2 separate regions of the Homo sapiens genome follow, and region 1 is linked to region 2. Evidence: promoter capture Hi-C in human tissues and cell types (Jung and others, 2019). All regions are on one chromosome and are shown on one strand. The core of a region is centred on a gene start or on the middle of the fragment in contact, and the rest is flanking DNA. Distances in the headings are between cores, read along the strand shown.

The links. The method cuts DNA at HindIII sites, captures the fragments that hold promoters and counts their contacts. A contact is called where the count stands out against the background at its distance.
Region 1: a fragment that was not itself captured here is called in contact with the fragment with the promoter of CDR2L in region 2 in 1 of the 25 tissues and cell types used here (spleen).

The regions. Positions count from the first base shown.
Region 1 is chr17:75,389,431-75,393,513 of GRCh38, forward strand. All of the region lies in intron 2 of GRB2 (growth factor receptor bound protein 2), which reads right to left. Among named protein-coding and RNA genes, the nearest start is that of GRB2, 14 kb to the right of the region's middle. The HindIII fragment of the contact is 6,103 bases long and covers 1-4,083 here.
Region 2 is chr17:74,985,008-74,989,556 of GRCh38, forward strand. It overlaps CDR2L (cerebellar degeneration related protein 2 like), which reads left to right and starts at 2,625. Exons shown (of 5, transcript NM_014603.3): 1 at 2,625-3,115. The coding sequence starts at 3,037. RefSeq lists an enhancer at 2,463-2,964 and silencers at 2,531-2,610, 2,631-2,720. The HindIII fragment of the contact is 16,458 bases long and covers 1-4,549 here.

The DNA of each region.
Region 1 (4,083 bases), core at 1,073-3,572, 400 kb after region 2:
ACTAAGAATCACTACTACAAATCACTACCAAGAATGATAGTTGTGTGATCTTGGATAGATCATTTAACCTATATGGGCCACCATTTCCTCATCTGTAAAAGAGTAAGTCTAACTTAAGAAATTTTAAAAGATCTTGCCGGGCGCGGTGGCTCACGCCTGTAATCCCAGCACTTTGGGAGGCCGAGACGGGCGGATCACCAGGTCAGGAGATCGAGACCATCCTGGCTAACATGGTGAAACCCCGTCTCTACTAAAAATACAAAAAATTAGCCGGGCGTGCTGGTGGGTGCCTGTAGTCCCAGCTACTGGGAGGCTGAGGCAGGAGAATGGCGTGAACCCGGGAGGCAGAGCTTGCAGTGAGCCGAGATCGCGCCACTGCACTCCAGCCTGGGTGACAGAGCGAGACTCCATCTCAAAAAAATAAAAAAATAAATAAAAATAAATTTTAAAAGATCTTTTCCTGTTCTAAAAAAATTTTTATATACCATCTTGTACTGTTTCACATATTAATCTCAATTCTCTTACTTGAGATTTTGGAGCTTCTGAAGGGAGAAAGTACATCTTATATTTCTCTCCCAACTCTCAAAGCAACTTATCCCAGTATCTGGCTCAAGAGATGCTCAGTCAGTGTGACACTGAAATAGGCCAGGCAGTGCTGAGACAGAATGCTTTGAAGATCTCAATGTGAACTCAAGACCTGTTTTTAAAGTAGTTTAAGAAACTGGTAAAGGTAGTTAGTGCCAGAGAGGGTAGAATACACCTAGATGATCCAGGCTGGCTCTCCACTAGAGCTGAAGAAAGCAAGAGGCTGGCTCTAGAATGGAATGAGCACAGATCTGAGAGCTCAAAATGGGTCTCTTAATTCCTATAAGCACAGTTTGAAGTATGTATACATAAGCCCCTAAATGGCAGTTGCAACTCCTAGGTAAGTTTTATGTGCTCTAGTGTAGACTATTTAGGGGTCTTGTCAGTGGAGAACCTCTGGGACTGTCTCAAGCCTGCCCTACAATGGTGGGAGGAATTCTGATGTATTCCAACCACACCAGGCCTGAAACCTGCAGTGGAAGGGCAATTCCTTCTATTTTACATCCCAGTGTCCTCTCCCTCCCCGAGCCAAGAAAAACACAAGCTTTTATAAGAGAGAGAAACAAAGGCAGACATATTGAACCATTCAACTCTATTTTAGGCTTCCAGTAAAATGCTTTTATTTTTTCCTCTTTTTCTCTGGACAGTAACAGGTCAATGTGTAGACAGAAAGTAGGGAAGGGGTCTGCTGGAGGAGAGGAGTCACCATTTTTAACTAAAAGTTAACCAGGAACTCCAAGACAGGAGAAGATGTGATCCTTCTGAACTATAGACAGAGGATGAAGGCTAAGTGCCTATTTCATTATCTTGAAATGAAACTTATTCAATATCCATATGCACGTCTCCTTTATCAAGAGAAGGCATATATATGCCTATTTCAATGAAAGTTAAATTGTTCAATGCTATTCCAGCAACTTTTAAAACATGTTTTGGCTTACAACTAATACCCTCAAGACGTCCCAAATCAAAGCAATTCAAATGAAGCCAGTTTACTTCTTGAAGAATCAAATGAGGAAAACTCCGTTTTTTTAACTAACAGCTTTTAAGAAAGCATGTTCCTCCTCTTCACCCAGCCATTTCACACAGTTATGAGACAAAGGGCAACTACTGTATCGTCACTCTTTTTTTTTTCTTTTGGAGTAAAGCCACAACATTACCAACAAACAGCTAATGGCCACCGTTCAAAAGCAATAATGGCATTATGACTTCATATCTCAGTTATCTACCAAATTGAAAAGAACCACATATATGTATTTTTCTCTCTCCTCAAAGAAAATCTAAAAGTGAATGTGAGTATTCTGATTTACTTTCTCCTCCATAATAAAAATTTCTGAGGGACTGTTAAACAGGATCTTCTTCCCTAATAATAGGATGGGAAAGAAGGTTTTTACACTTGCTCCAGAATTTACTAATTTAAGTTAAAGAATTTATAAAATGTTCATGGTCTAGGTCTAGGACAAACTTCAAAGACAGAAATCAGGGAAAGTTCTTGTTTAAAAATTTTAAAAAAAGGCTGGGTGCAGTAGCTCACGCCTGTAATCCCAGCACTTTGGGAGGCCGAGGTGGGCAGATCACGAGGTCAGGAGATTGAGATCATCCTGGCTAACATGGTGAAATCCCATCTCCACTAAAAATTCAAAAAATTAGCCGGGCGTGGTGGCGGGCGCCTGTAGTCCCGGCTACTCGGGAGGCTGAGGCAGGAGAATGGCATGAACCTGGGAGGTGGAGCTTGCGGTGAGCCCAGATTGTACCACCGCACTCCAGCCTGGGTGACAGAGCGAGACTCCATCTCAAAAAAAAAAAAAAAAAAAAAATTCTTAAAAAGAGACCGCATGCCCCTAGTTTTGTTTTAATTTGTTGCTTCAGTGCTTAATGTGCAATGGGACAGATTTAGAGAAAAATATGAACCACCAGCCTTCTAGGTTCAAGTTTCTAAGATAAACTTATGAAAAAATCTAAGTTTGTATCAAAAACAAAAAATACTAGCCCAAAAGGGCTTTTGTACAGGCTATAGATGTGGGCATTTGAGTAGCCCATCTTATACCATCACAAGTGGGTTATCTACAGAAAACAGTAATCACCTACAGAAACATCAAATTACCTCTCCCATACACCAATGAAAACTGAGGAATTTTGTAGTCTAAGTTAACTTTGCCCTGATCTCTAGCTGGGCATATTTTCTCTAGTTCAAGAAAATAGAAACCTAGTTTCTAGAAAATGGTTCCGTCTGCTTTCTGACAATTTAGTGTTGACTTTGAGAATACCCTCGAAAAGTGTGGTGTCACAAACACAGCTTTGAAATGAACACACAGACACAAAGTTTTCTTCTCTTTAAAGGGCTCTGCAGCATCATCTTCTATGAGGCTCAACCTACATTTCTAACATTAAGAAATTACTGGGCAGTTAACTTCAGAGTAGAACTCTACGCCTTGGGCAATGAGGGCAAAATAAAGACTATCAATAAGTCCACATAACTTAAAAGTAAAAAGACTGCACGTCCTTTTATAAAGAACCATATTTCTACATCTCCACTTGCTTTCTCTTCATAAAATTCTAAGAATTTCATTCAGGGGTAGTAAACAAATGAGGTAGCAAATTCCAACAATCAGTCTAAGGCTCAGAAGGAAAAATGTCAAAACTTGAGACACAGGGAACACTCAAACATGAAGCTTCAGCCTTTCCTCCTTTAAAGTTAACATACTCTTTGATAACACTCATCCTCGTTAAAATAAATTACACATCCAAAAGAGCAAACTGCTACAGTCAATTGGGTAAACAACATAATTAACATGTGCTGGGGGAGAGCGAATCCTCACATAAATAGTGGGGCTCAAAATAAGCTGCACATGGTATAGAAGCTGATTTTTAAACTGTCAGCAGGTTTCTTTTCGTGCAATTAGAGTTTAATATGGGGTAATTGCTCCTCAAGTTTCTTTTAAGAAAGTCGAAATCTGACTTGTACAATAGCAGGTTGCACCTTATTATTTAGAACTCCATTTGTTTTTTCACAAAGAATAAAAATACACTGAAGTTCTTTAATGAGTTTTGGTATGTACTTCTAACAACCTCTCTAAACTGGGAAAATTAATTTCTAACCTACCAAAATCATATTCCAGAACGCAAAATCCTTTGGCTATACAAAGTAAGACTAACTGAATGCTTTTACATAAATACTTCAGGTCTGGGTCTTTTTAAAAAATGCTATTTTTAAAATAAAACTCTACAGGGCAAATCAATCTACTCATATACTTCCTTTCTACAATCACATTACTTTGACTTTACTTGAAATATTACCAGTATCAACAGACAAATGAGGCATTCACACAAAGGCAGTTAAACACCACACATCACACCAACTCACTTAAGTCATATTTAATATTCTACTCAGCATCTAAAGCTCTCCAGAACAAATATGATGGTAAATGTTAAAAGTGTACAATGAAAAACACAGCTTCTTTGTGTGTAATCAGGGCGAAAGAAGGTGGGTGAGCACAGGGA
Region 2 (4,549 bases), core at 1,375-3,874:
CCACATATTCTTCGTCAACTGTTGATGGACATTTGTGTTGTTTCCAGTGTGGGCGCTTATGAATACTGTGGCTATGAACTTTCTTGTACATGTCTTTGGGATAAGGTATGTGCATATTTCTCTTGCACATATATAGGAATAGAATTTCTGGGTTATAGGGTATGCATGTATAGTGGCTGCTGTGATGTATCCCCAACTCTTTCAGAACGAAAGGACCTATTCCCTTAGCTGCTGGGAGGACCCCTGGCTGGCAGTCCCAGCTGCCAGGGCTCTGTGCAAACTAGTCTCAGCTGAAAAGAACTTATTTGGCCAAGGTCACACATGCCTCCTAGGAACGACCTGTGTCATTCAATGACTGGTTGATATGTAAGGGTGGGGGATATAAAGGCCCCCTCCCCCAATGATACCTGGAATAGCTTTGAAGGGTCACCCTGGATTCAAAGTTCTTCAGGGATCAGAGGAGGCTTTTGCAGAGGCTACATACCAACCCAGCTTCTCCCCCACCAACCCTGCTTCCCTCCCTTTCCTGCAGGTGTTGATCATGAGAGCACTCCCTAGTCAACTTTCTTTCTTTTTTCTCCCTCTAATCCAATATGATTGATATCCCTAATCAACTTCCTGCATGCTAATCTCCATCTCAGGATCAGCTGCCTGGGAACACAACCTACAACAGCTTACGTTATTCAGCTTTCATGGTTATCAAGCAGTCTTTTTTTTTTTTTTTTCCAAGACGCAGTCTTGCTCTATCGCCCAGGCTGGGTGCAGTGGCGCAATCTCAGCTCACTGCAACTTCCGCCTCCCAGGTTCAAGCAATTCTCCTGCCTCAGCCTCCCAAGTAGCTAGGACTACAGGCATGTGCCACCATGCCCAGCTAATTTTGTATTTTTAGTAGAGACAGGGTTTCACCATGTTTCCCAGGCTGGTCTTGAACTCCTGACCTCAAGCGATCCACCCTCCTTGGCCTTCCAAAGCGTTGGGAATTACAGGCATGAGCCACCACGCCCGGGCAGTTTTCTAAAGTGGTTGTCGTCCTATGTATTCCCTCCAGCAGGGTGAGAGAGTTCCAGTTGCTCAACATTCTTGCCAATACTAGGTATTTTTTGTCTTTTTTTTTTTTTTTTTTTTTTTTTTTTTGAGACAGGATCTTGCTCTGTCACCCAGGCTGGAGTGCAGTGGCATGACCACAGCTCCCTACAGCCTCAACCTCCTAGACTCAAGCAATTCTCCCACCTCAGCCTCCCAAAGTATCTGGGACTACAGCCGTGTGTCATTATGCCCACCTAATTTTTATTTTTAAATTTTTTTATAGAAATAGGATCTTGCTATGTTGCCCAGGCTGCTCTTGAACTCCAGGCTCAAGTGATCCTCCCAACCTCGGCCTCCCCAGAGTTCTGGGATTATAGGCATGAACCACCACGCCTGGCCTTTTTTTTTTTTTTTTTTTTCCCTAAAGCCACTCTGGTGATTGGGTAGTGATACCTCATTGTGGTTTTCATTTGCATTTTTCTGATGGCTAAAGAAGTTCAGTACCTTGTTGCATATTTATTCAGTTATTTGTGTATCCTTTTTTGTGAATTACCTGGTCAAATCTTTTACCCACTTTTCTACTGGGTTGCGTGCCTTTTTCTTATGACTATGCAGATGTTCTTTCTGTATTCTGGATACAAGTCATTCGTTGGGTATATCACAACATTATTCAGAGATTCTCAACGGCACCAGCACATTAGGGTCCCAATAAAAATGAGTTACGTGAATGCTTGAGTCCGAACACTCTTCTAAGGAAAGAATGCTTGGACAGATGCAAGTGTGTATAGTTTTAATGGGTATAATTGGATATAGGATATGGGTCCCAAGGAAAGGAAAACAGAACCTTGAATGCAGGTAACACACCCTCAAACTTTGCCACTTTCAGCCTGTGGTTTCTAGCCACAAGCACTTAAACACGCAGTTCCCAAAGGCAACTGTAAATTAGTATTCATTCATTCAAAGAATGTCGATGGAAGGTATCAATGACCAGCATGTTGTTTGTTTTTTGTTTGTTTGTTTTTTGAGGCAGAGTCTCCCTCTGTCGCCCAGGCTGGAGTGCAGTGGCGCTATCTTGGCTCACTGCAACCTCTGCCTCCAGGGTTCAAGCGATTCTCCTGCCTCAGCCTCCCGAGTAGGCATGCGCCACCATGCCCAGCTAATTTTTGTATTTTTAATGGAGACGGGGTTTCGCCATGTTGGCCAGGCTGGTCTCGAAACCCCTGACCTCAGGCGATCTGCCCGCCTTGGCCTCCCAAGGTGCTGGAATTACAGGAGTCAGGCATCGCGCCCGACTGGTGAGCAGCCTGTTCTAGGAAGTGAGTAGCCAGCTGTGAAAGAGAAACAATATTCTTGCTTCCAGGAGATCTAGGAGAGACGACAACTTCTAAAATAGCATAATTTTAGACATGAGACATAAACTGAATAGGTCGTAGGGGGAAGTAGGACGAAAGGGTTGATCAAGCAATTCCCAGACCAAGACACCAGGAGGGTCCCGCCCTCGGCCCCGCCTCCAGCTTTGCATACATCTCCTGATTGGTCGGCGGCGGCAGGCCCCACCCCGCGGAGCCGAGCTCCGCAAGCTGCAGGCGGGCTCCGCCAAGATGCAGCGGCGGCTCCGGTTGTCGCCGGGCGGGCCAGGAGCAGCGCGGACCCGAGCCGGGCAGGGGGCGCCCGCCACGGCACCCGCGCGCTCCTAGCGCCCCAGACCCGCCTGCGGGCCCGGATCCTCCTTGCCACTGTCCCACCCGCCGTCCCTGCCACTCCACCCTTTGTGTCGCCGCAGCCCGGTGCCCCCGGCTCTGCGGGACCCCGGCCGGGCCGGACCCTGGCAAAGCGCCAGGCCCCGCGTGGGCTCCCGGCGAGCGGTTGATGGCGAGGGGGCGCGGCGCGGGCTCTGTAGCCCGAGTTCCCGACGCTGGAGGCCCGGCCCGCCTCAGCCGCATTGTCCCGGGCCGCGCGCACCGGCCCTGAGCTGCGCCGCCGCAGCACCCGCCCGCCGCCCGCGGGGCCATGCGGAGAGCCGCCGGGATGGAGGACTTCTCCGCGGAGGAAGAGGAGTCCTGGTACGACCAGCAGGACCTGGAGCAGGGTGAGCGCGGGGGCGACCGGGACAGGAAGGCGGGGAGCGCCCGGTGACCCCTGTCCGCTTCTCCATTGTTGGGCGCTATCACCCCGGGAGGGGCTGGGCTGGACCGGGCGCGCCCGACTCGGAGGAGGGACGCGTCTGGAGAACCGGGACGTGGAGAGAGGGGGCGCTGCCGGAGAAGACGCGGACCGGACGGGCGGAGACCTGCAAAAGTGGGGGGCGGGGGGCGGTCTTCCTATTTTCCCAGACGACCGGGCATCCGTCATCCAGCTCGCCCACCCCGTCCTGGAGGCAGCAACTGCTCGGCCGCCCCTGGTATTGTTACGGGGCCTGAGCGCTAGCTAGGAGTCTTCTGAGGCCGGGAGGCGGCTCCTTCGTCATGTTTTGCTGGGAGGGTGGCTTGTGTGTAGAGGGAAGTTATCTCACGCCAAATCCAGCAGCACCCGTCCCTGACAGGAATTATGAGCTCTAAGACTCCTAGAAAGTTTCCCTAACTCGCTTCCTACTCAGGGAGAAGTGGTACCGCGTCTTTGCTGGTGAAGAAGCAGAAAGTCAAGTCTCCCATCTGCCTTCGAGAGTCAGGAGTCGCTTAGCCCTCCCCTGCCCGGTCCCCTTGCAAATGGCTCATGGTTTGGAGGGGGTCAGGTTCGGGAATCCCGGCCAGTGTGCCAGGCGAGAGACCGAATAAAGAGGGATACATCTCCGCTGCCCCCAGTTGCCATCTGAGGACAGAAAGGGCGACTGGAAGGGGGTTAGAAGCTGGTGATGAGGTGGCCGAAATGACATCACTGGGAGTGGGGGGTGGGGCTGTTGGGACAGAAAGGAAGAGGAGGCCTGCTGGAGTGGAGTCAGTTCTATCCTCTCCTCCCCTAAGATGCCTCCTTCTTGGATGGTGAGAGCTGGAAGGGGCGAGGAAACATGTCCAGGGAGAAGTGACCTTCCCATGGCCTCCAGCAAGCTGGGGGGTGTGGACATAAGTCTGCTGCAGTTTGTGCCATTGTGGCCTGCTGTGGTGTGCCCACACCCTGGTCTCCATCCACAAGGCTCCAGAGGGCTGGCTTTGCCCTGATGTGCAGCAGCTATCCGGATTCTGAAGCCCCTGACCTACTTCCCCACATGGCCAAGACTGGCTGGCAGATGAGGCTCTGTCCTTGTGCTGAGGACAAGGGTTAATCATAGCCTCAGGGGGACCAGGGTGGGACTGGGGATGCTGGACTAGGCCCTGCCATGGTCTGTGCCCTGGACTCTGGCCTCAGCCTCCTTGGCTGAAATGAGATACAGCTCCTCTCAAACACACACACACACACACACACACACACACACACACATCCACACATTGTGACAACCCCCTCTCCCATCCTGGGCAGTAAATTTTTCCATGAACACCTATTAGGCTCCCCTTAAGTACCAGACACCATCCTGGGAGCTAGGAATAGT